3 separate regions of the Homo sapiens genome follow, and regions 2 and 3 are each linked to region 1. The links are contacts of gene promoters, found by promoter capture Hi-C in blood cells and fetal thymus (Javierre and others, 2016). All regions are on one chromosome and are shown on one strand. The core of a region is centred on a gene start or on the middle of the fragment in contact, and the rest is flanking DNA. Distances in the headings are between cores, read along the strand shown.

Region 1 (3,012 bases), core at 337-2,836:
CCACCCTCCACAGTAAAGCTTTAATAGCAATGGCTTCTTCCTCAGTGGTAATGATCTTTGTTCGGCACACTACTGATGGCTACCTTCCCAATTCAGGAGCAGAGAAAGAGCATCAGAGTGAGAGTGCATTCACTGAACAAAAAAAGCATCTACTGTACTCTCTTCTCATTGAAAAATGTACCCTTTATCTTCGTTGATTAAAAAAAAAAACCGGATTCCTTCCGGACTCAACCAATAAGCAATTCTTTCTAACCAACCCTGACCCTCCAATATGTTCTGTCCAAGGGCACTACATGTTTCCGTATCTTATAATAAATATTTAATGTAACCAAAAGAGCACACAACTTCCTCCCACCCCCAACCTTTTGGGAAAGGTATGTGGCTAACTAGGGCTCTTCCCTTCCTGTTGGATCCTCCCAGCGTTGCAGCAGGAAGCAACCAGTTCATAGAGATAAAGCAAGCTAGTATTTGTGCAGCGCACAACCTTTCCTGCTCAGGAACCAGGCCTTCAGGTCTGGCAAGGATAACAGCCACCACCCATCCGCAACCTCATCTCGCGAACCGAGTAAAGAGTTATCCCGGGTTGGGTGCCACTGAGTAGGGAGGGCAAGAAAAGAAAAGGCTAGGTGGGAAGTAATGTCAGCCTGCCGGGTCACTGCGACAAGTGCGCGAGTGGGTGATGGGCGATCCCTCTTACCCTCCCTCCCACCACCCAGGTCGCAACGGAGACAAGGGAGCTCTAAACACGATTTGGGGAGGGAAGGTAGAGAGAGTTGCCAAATGGGGAGTGGGAGAGGGAGCGGTCAGAGAAGGTTAAGGACCGCGAGAACCGCGGGGCGGAGGGTGGGGGCGGAGGCCCTTGGCCCGCTCAGATTTTACGGGGTCCTGGACCCGGGATGGGAGAAGCTTAGAGGGGCGGCCGTCCAAGTGGAGGGGAGATACAGAAGAGACGCTCGCTCGAGGGGGGAAAGAGGGCAGATAAGAAAAAGACCTGTAATGGGAGTCTGCACCGAAGGCAAGGCCAAGAGGGAAGCGAAGAACCCGTCAGAGGGGCTTCGGGAGAGGACGCGAGCTGGGAAGGGTGTACGCCGAGGGGGAGGGGGCGCTACACCCGAAAAGAGAGATGGTGGGAGGAGCGGCGGGGCCGTAGAACCCGGGGAAAGGAATTCGACGATGTGGGAGAAGGCAGTCCGCCAGGGGAAGGACACGCAGGGAGGGGCTCTGAGGCCAGCGAAGGCCTATGGAGAGGTCGCTCAGAGAGCGGCATGTGATGGGGACCCCTGTCTGAGCGGGGGAGAAGAGGCTGAGCTGGGTAGGAGACGGAACCGCACAAAAAGGAAGGGCTGAGGGAGGCCTATATCAGTGCAGGGGTGGCCGGCACGAGGGTCCACCGGGAGTGGCCCGGGTCCCCGAACGAGGACTGTGTAGAGTGCGAGAGCCCATGGCCTCACCTTTAAAGAGGTAGTCGTACTCGTCGTCGCGGGTGCCCATTGCGCGGCCGAGGAGCGAAAGGGCGGGAGCAGCAGTGGTATCTGTGGGACCAGGGGGCGTCGCTGCAGGGGTAACCCGAGCGCCGAGCTTCAACTGCCGGACTGGGTGAAGAGCCCCTCCCTGCCGCTGCGCCATTTCCGGCAGGCCCCAGCCTTTAAGGGGAAGTACTTCCGGGGGCGGCGCCCCGCCCCTGAGCCCAACAAGGGCGGTGTGCGCGAGAGTCGAGATGCGTGGGGCTTCAAGCTTTAGTCGCTAAAGGAGGCTCAAAGGGGAAACTGAGTCCTGGAACTCCTAGCTACCATAGTCTTAGTGGCCGCTTGCTCATTTCTCGAGCTACCGTGCCGGAAGCGGCTCGCTGGAACCAGGCGGGACCGCCTGTGAGTGGTGGGTTTGTGGATGGGGGCGGGGTTCTCTGAGGATTAGACAGCCGAAGGCAGCTACACATGCGTGGCGGTTCCATGGTGTAATGGTTAGCACTCTGGACTCTGAATCCAGCGATCCGAGTTCAAATCTCGGTGGAACCTGCATTGGTTTTTGTTTTTTTAATCTTGACAACATCTTTAATTCACTTTTTTGGTCACTAAGTAATTGAACAACTATGACACATCTTAAGATGGAGATGTAAAATTTAATCCTTGCCTATGAAGACCTCACAAATTTCCCACTGCATTTCAGGTGCTATCTGCTACCTGGCGGGGGGTTGTCTTAATGAGCTTCTTCACTGCCTTTTTTTTAACCCTGGGCTTTCAAGCCTTGATTCAAAAGCTTCAGTGAAACTTGAAAATTCCTTTTGCTGGAATTTTCTACCTCCAGCTTCATGCACGGGTAGGCGCTTGTCACTCACTCCTCTCCGGAAATCTCGCAATCTATCTCATTTTCATTTAGAGTACTTCGCCCACCCTCCTCATCAAGATTCATCAAGAACTTGAGTCCTATTTGTAGGCCTCTAATCTAAGTCCGTTTACATAAGTATTTCATTTAACATGCCAAGCAAAGGATGGTAATTTCCATTTTAGCGGAAGTTTGGATACTAAGACTCAAGTGATTTGCCAGATATCATGTCGCAGGGCCTCCCTGTATTTGAAGAGAATTTTGTCATTCCAGAAAAGCCTTTATCCAATTATTGTCACACCTCCTACCTCCTATATGCAAACTCTCGATTTAGACTTGTGGGCAAGTATGCCTATAACAAGCAGAATAATGCCCCCTGCCAATGATGTCCACTTCCCAATTCCTGGAGACTGAATAGGTTAGGTTACATGGCAAAGGGGAATTGAGGTTACAGATGAAATTAAGGTTGCTTATCAGCTGACATTAAATTAGGGATATTATCCTGGATTAGTTGGGTGGGCCCAGTGTTGTCATAAGGTCCTTAAAAGTAGAAAATGGGCTGGGCACGGTGGCTCAGGCCTTAATTCCAGCACTTTGGGAGGCCAAGGTGGGTGGATCACCTGAGGTCAAGAGTTCAAGACCAGCCTGGCCAACAAGGTGAAACCCTGTCGCTACTAAAATACAAAAAAT
Region 2 (3,012 bases), core at 252-2,751, 160 kb after region 1:
TTCTGTTTTAGCTAAGAACTCAGGATTCCTAGCTAAGTCACATGATTTAAAGAAATATTAATATCTAAGATATACAAGATTTGTAATTTTGCTAACTAGGGTATTACGTCCTAAGGAGCATATCTTAGTACTCATGGTTAATACATTATGTTGTCTAGGATTTTCTGTAGGCCACCTGTTGTTTATGTGATGGTAGTCCATGCAGAAGGTGACTGGAATCATTGCTTAAAGATTATGAATTCTGAGAAGTCTCGAAAAAGAAAATTCTATTAAATGTATAATCATTGTTTCTAGGTAGACTATTTTCCTAAAATGTTATTTATCTATTCAAAATCTAGATCCAACAAAAGATCACTTATATATATGAATTAACATTATACTTAAAGATTTTAATGACTACTCAGAAAATCAAAACTGAAAATTAATGCATTAAAACATAATTACTTGTATTTGCTTTGTTATAATTCAAGAGACTTATTAGAGAAAATAAAGTGTCACGAGATTATATATATATATATATATATATTTTTTTTTTTTTTTTTTTTTTTTTGAGATGGAGTTTTTGCTCTTGTTGCCCAGGCTGGAGTGCAATGGCATGATCTTGGCTCACCGCAACCTCCGTCTCCTGGGTTCAAGCAGTTCTCCTGCCTTAGCTTCCCGAGTAGCTGGGATTACAGGCGTGTGCCACCACACCTGGCTAATTTTGTGTTTTTAGTTTCTCCATGTTGGTCAGGTTGGTCTCAAACTCCCGACCTCAGGTGATCCGCCCATCTCGACCTCCCAAAGTGCTGGGATTACAGGCATGAGCCGCCGTGCCCGGCTCAAAATGTATCTTAATAAAGTTCATATGTAGTTAGAGCAGAGGTTAATTGTATCCCTGGTGGTGTTATTAGCCAGAACTCTCTGAAATGTAAATAATTATACAATGCTGTTACTACCTTTCATGTTTTGATACCATAGTAAGTGACTCACAAAAAATCAGTGCTTACTATTCATCTGCATATGTTTTCTGAATATCAGTAACACTTTAAAAAGAATAATTTTTGTGAGGGTTATTCCTTAGTTGAGTAACTTTGAGCTTAAGTTTTTAAGTGAACAAATCCTCTTACCTCTGGCAGTTTAGCTATAGAAAATAAATAACATTAAATATACGTTAACTGTCTCATATGGTTCATGACTACTATTGAACAAAAATTAGACGTGTGATACTGTTATTCACTTATTCTCACATGGTATATTAACTCTTTTGATCTTAGCATATCCAAACAAAACACTTGACCGACTTTAAAAAGCTGGAGCGGGTAATACTGAATAGAAATAAGAAAAACAATATATGAGAATTATGTGAGTTTCATTTATGACTAATTTAAGAACCATGTGTTCTTGTTCTTCATATGATTATATTTTAAATCCTTACAATCTGTTCCTGTGGGATGGTGCTTAACTAAAGGCAGTTTTGTGTAACAAATAGTCTGGTAAGATTTTTTCTTGGTTTCCCAAGAATCCCTTTCCAGTGTTTTCTGAGCATATTAATGTCTTGTGGGAAAATATGAAGAGAATATGAAAATTATTTTAATTTTATCCTGCTGTGGGTGTTGGATTTCTTTTTCTCTCGATAGAGACAGATGTCACCATGCTTTCCAAAAGACAGAGATGTCCAACTGATAAATGTAGGATTTATTGCACGGCTATTTTTATAATGTTAAAATGAGATTTTATTGGTATATAAGTAGAAGGAAGTATCTTTTACCAAGCTATTGAGTCTACAGTGCAAAATTTTAATATTTGTATAGACTTTACCGAAAACTAGAGCAGTTGTCCTGGACCCCACACTTTTCTATGAGAACAATATGGCTAGAGAATGGAAAGTAGGCACCAATATGGAGAGGGAGAAGCTGCTAAAAAAAAGAGTGAGAACTATTAAATAAATAAACATTTGCTGAGCATGGTGGCTCATTCCTGTAATCTCAACATTTTTGGGAGGCTGAGGCAGAAGGATTGCTTTGAGGCCAGGAGTTCCAGACCAGTCTGGGCAACATAGCAAGACCCCATCTCTACCAAAAAAAAAGAAAGAAAGAAAAATTAGCTGGGTGTGGTGGCATGTGCCTGTAGTCCCAGCTACTTGAGAGACTAAGGCAGGAGGATCACTTGAGCCTAGGAGTTTGAGGTTGCAGCAAGCTGTGATTGCATCATGGCATTTTAGCCTGGGCAACAGAGCAAGACCCTGTCTCAAAAAAAACATTAAGAATCATAATATATAGGCTGGGTACTGTGGCTCATGCCTGTAATCCCAGCACTTTGGGAGGCCAAGGCAGGCGGATCACCTAAGGTCAGGAGCTCCTGACCAGCCTGGCCAACATGGTAAAACCCTGTCACTACTAAAAATATAAAAATTAGCTGGGTGTGGTGGCACGCACTTGTAGTCCCAGCTACTTGGGAGGCTTTGGCATGAGAATTGCTTGAACCTGGGAGGCGGTGGTGCTGGTGAGCCAAAATTGCACCATGCACTCCAGCCTAGGTGACAGAGCAAGACTCTGTCTCAAAAAAAAAAAAAAATCATAATATGTATACGATTTAGTAGTCTGATTCTTTTCTCATTTATTGTTATTTTGTAAATGTTTTTCTCATTATTATAATTCTGAATCGTGTCCTAATTTTTGTCTAGTTCACTGTATGGATATACCATTAAAAACATTATTTAATCCAAGAGAGTATAGCATATAATGCTGTGAAATTATAATCAATAATTTATATAAGAAGATTTTTGAATGTATTGGTTCCTTTAAGTGTTAGAAAATTTTTAAAACTCATCTCTGTTCTTTTTTGGTATACTCTGCCCTAAGTCCTTATCTTAAAGGTTTAACTACTTAATAATTCTTGCTCTTCCACTTAATCCACATGGTATGTGATATTTCTAACCTAATAAAGTTCTGTGAAATGTGTTTTGTCATATGTATAACATCCTTTTTTATTAATATCAATATTATTCTTTTTAGTTTATGAGCTCTTGTG
Region 3 (3,012 bases), core at 384-2,883, 140 kb after region 1:
TTAGAAAAGTTTAGCAGAAAATGAGTATTCTGTTATAAAGCATGCATACTGTCAAAATTTTTATTCATGGAAAGCCTAACCAAGAAAATATGAAATATATTTTATGCATAAAAGCCATTTTACATACGGCATCAATAGATTCAATGATTCTTTACCATCAACATTTCATTCTTTACCAGAACTGTTTAATACTTTTAAACATTAAAGTAATACAACTTTTCCTTGCCAGGTTAATGTTACGTGATGTAATATTTTTTAATTGAAATTAACAGTGGTAAGAGTGTATACTGTGTTTATTATGGTAATAAATTGTATTTTCCACCTTACAATGTCTCTTAATTTGTTAAAAGAATTTTCTCAGCTAGGTGTCTTGACTCATACCTGTAATCTCCACACTTTGGGAGGCTGAGGCAGGAGGATCACTTGAGGCCAGAAGAGACCCCATTTATACAAAAAATTTAAAAATTAGAAAAAGAATTTTGTCTTCCTACTTACTATTTTTTCTTTCTTTCTTGAAGTTGCTGAGGTCTGAGCTCTTTTCTTTCTGCTTTGATCACTAATGAGTTAAAGAATCAAAGAAAGATAAGTTGTTTGTGCTCATGAATTCTTGCCATTACCACCCTCCCAAACCGGTGGAGGACTAGACTAGCGAACTGACAGCTTTCTACTTTCCTTCAATTAGAATTTCTGAAGCCCCAGCCTGAAGTTTGAAAGAAAAACAAATCCCAAGTATGGAATTTTTGGTTTCTTTTCCCCTTCCCTGTCTTAAGTATATATGATACAGACTATTTTTAAATATGAAGAAATTTCTGAAGAAAGGGAAAGAAATTAATATGTATGTACCAAGTGTAAAGCTACATGTGTAGCCTAAGTTATCTCATGTTATTCTCCATACTTTGTGAGGTGGTTCTTTTTTTTATTTTTTTTATTTTTATTTTTTGAGACAGAGTCTCACTCTGTTGCCCAGGCTGGAGTGTGGTGGCGTGATCTCAGCTCACTGCAAGCTCCACCTCCCAGGTTCTTGCCATTCTCCTGCCTCAGCCTCCCGAGTAGCTGGGACCACAGGTGCCCGCCACCATACCTGGCTAATTTTTTGAATTTTTTAGTAGAGACGGGGTTTCACCGCATTAGCCAGGATGGTCTCCATCTCCTGACCTCATGATCTGCCCGCCTCGGCCTCCCAAAGTGCTGGGATTACAGGCGTGAGCCACCGCGCCCAGCCGAGGTAGTTCTTATTAACCCTTCTGACAAGGAAACCAAAGCTTAGATTTTTAAGCGATTTATCAAAGGGCATATAGCTTATGTTGTCAGAACTGCATTTTAAAGCCATTACTGTTTGACTCCAAAACTAATGCTTCTACCACTAATTATTGGGTAACTATATAATATGTGTATGTCATAAAATAATGTAGTAATCTTGTAAGTGGAAGTCATCATGAGTAAATATACATTTACTCATAAGATGATCTTTTTTATAAGAAGATGATCATAGACCAAACTCAAGTACTTCAAAAAATTCCCTTACCCAGCCAAGTTTTAGAGGGAAGATATCAAAGGAAAGAGGCAGAAATTATAGCAGTAAGTAACAGTAATTAGATGTGATCAGATGATACCAAGATGTTGTTCATTCATTTACGCCACAAACATATCCCGAGTGCCCTTTTTTTGCTAGGCACTGGGAATAAAATAGCAAACCACATATTCTTCTTTCTCTTAAGACACTCATAATTAAGTCTAGCAAGACAGGCACTATGCAGTGAATGGTAAGACACAGTGGGAAAGCTGTGTTACTGAGTTTCATCAAGAAAATAATTTTAAAAAGTGTTTCTATGTTGCGTTCTTACTATAACACAGGATCCTGTTGGTCACATTGTAAATGTAATCACACCTTCACAGCAGGACATCTGCAGTTTGACTTTGCCCTATCTTTATTTTTATTCTCATTTGTGGAAAGATAGAGGGGACAAATTCCAAGACAGTCATTTTTGTTCAGCTTAAGCTTTCTTATCCCACTCTTTTTTCTTTGTTTACTTTTCAAAGTGATATTTGCCCTTTTTTGTTCTGTAGGAAGTTTAGGGAATATAAAAAGGTTCAGCAAGTTCCACTACACACCTGTGCTATGTTGTTCTGTGGTGGTTAAAATATGAGTGTTTTACTTTTCTTTTCTTTTTCTATACATTTTTCAAGTTTTCTAAAATGAATATTCATTGCTTTTGAAATAAAAAAAAAAAAAAACGATTCAAAAAAAAGTAGAGTCAGCTGGTCACAGTGCCTTTTGCCTGTAATCCTAACACTTTGAGAGGCAGAGGCCAGGAGGATTCCTTAAGATGTGGAGTTCAAGACCAGCCTGGGCAACGAAGCAAGACCTCATCTCTACAAAATAAAAATTAGCAGGCTGTAGGGGTGCGCGCCTGTAGTCTCAGCTGCTTGGGAGGCTGAGGCCTGCTTGGGAGGACCACTTGAGCCTGGGAGTTAAGACTGCAGTGAGCCGTGATCATGCCACTGCACTCCACCCTTGGTGACAGAGTGAGACGTTGTCTCTCTGGTTTTTTTTTTTAAAGTGGAGTCATTAAAGCTATCTTTAAGTCCAAATGCTTTGCAATGCTTTATCACCATGCTCTTTTCTACTCCTACCCCATGTATGGTTTAGAGACCAACTGTGTTGTAATTGCTATAATAAAGGAGATTATAGGAGCCTGTCCCAGAAACAAAGATACAATAGTTCCTCCTTTACCCACAGTCTGGTTTTCCATGGTTTCAGTTATCTGTGGCCAACTATAGTCTGAAAGTACATGAGTACAGTACAATAAGTTATTTTGAGAGAGAGAGCCCACGTTCACATAACGTTTATTAAAGTATATTGTTATAATTCTATTTTATTATAAATTATTGTTATCGATCCCTTACTGTGCCTAATTTATAAATTGAACTTTATCATAGGTATATATGCTTGGGAAAAAACATAGTAAATATGGGGTTCTGAACTGTCTGTGATTTCAGGCATCCACTGGG

Evidence for each region. Contacts are between HindIII fragments. The CHiCAGO score rates a contact against its expected background, and 5 or more counts as called.
Region 2: a fragment that was not itself captured here is called in contact with the fragment with the promoter of RAB11A in region 1 in 5 of 17 cell types (total B cells, naive B cells, megakaryocytes and 2 more); the score reaches 11.4 in total B cells.
Region 3: a fragment that was not itself captured here is called in contact with the fragment with the promoter of RAB11A in region 1 in 5 of 17 cell types (megakaryocytes, total CD8 T cells, naive B cells and 2 more); the score reaches 9.4 in megakaryocytes.

What each region holds. Positions count from the first base shown.
Region 1 is chr15:65,868,065-65,871,076 of GRCh38, reverse strand. It overlaps RAB11A (RAB11A, member RAS oncogene family), which reads right to left and starts at 1,586. Exons shown (of 5, transcript NM_004663.5): 1 at 1,452-1,586. The coding sequence starts at 1,491. TRQ-CTG1-4 (tRNA-Gln (anticodon CTG) 1-4) reads left to right here and starts at 1,944; the gene lies at 1,944-2,015. RefSeq lists an enhancer at 1,713-1,772. The HindIII fragment of the contact is 828 bases long and covers 909-1,736 here.
Region 2 is chr15:65,707,234-65,710,245 of GRCh38, reverse strand. All of the region lies in intron 14 of DENND4A (DENN domain containing 4A), which reads left to right. Among named protein-coding and RNA genes, the nearest start is that of MIR4511, 11 kb to the left of the region's middle. The HindIII fragment of the contact is 5,576 bases long and covers 1-3,012 here.
Region 3 is chr15:65,723,605-65,726,616 of GRCh38, reverse strand. All of the region lies in intron 11 of DENND4A (DENN domain containing 4A), which reads left to right. Among named protein-coding and RNA genes, the nearest start is that of MIR4511, 5.8 kb to the right of the region's middle. The HindIII fragment of the contact is 737 bases long and covers 1,265-2,001 here.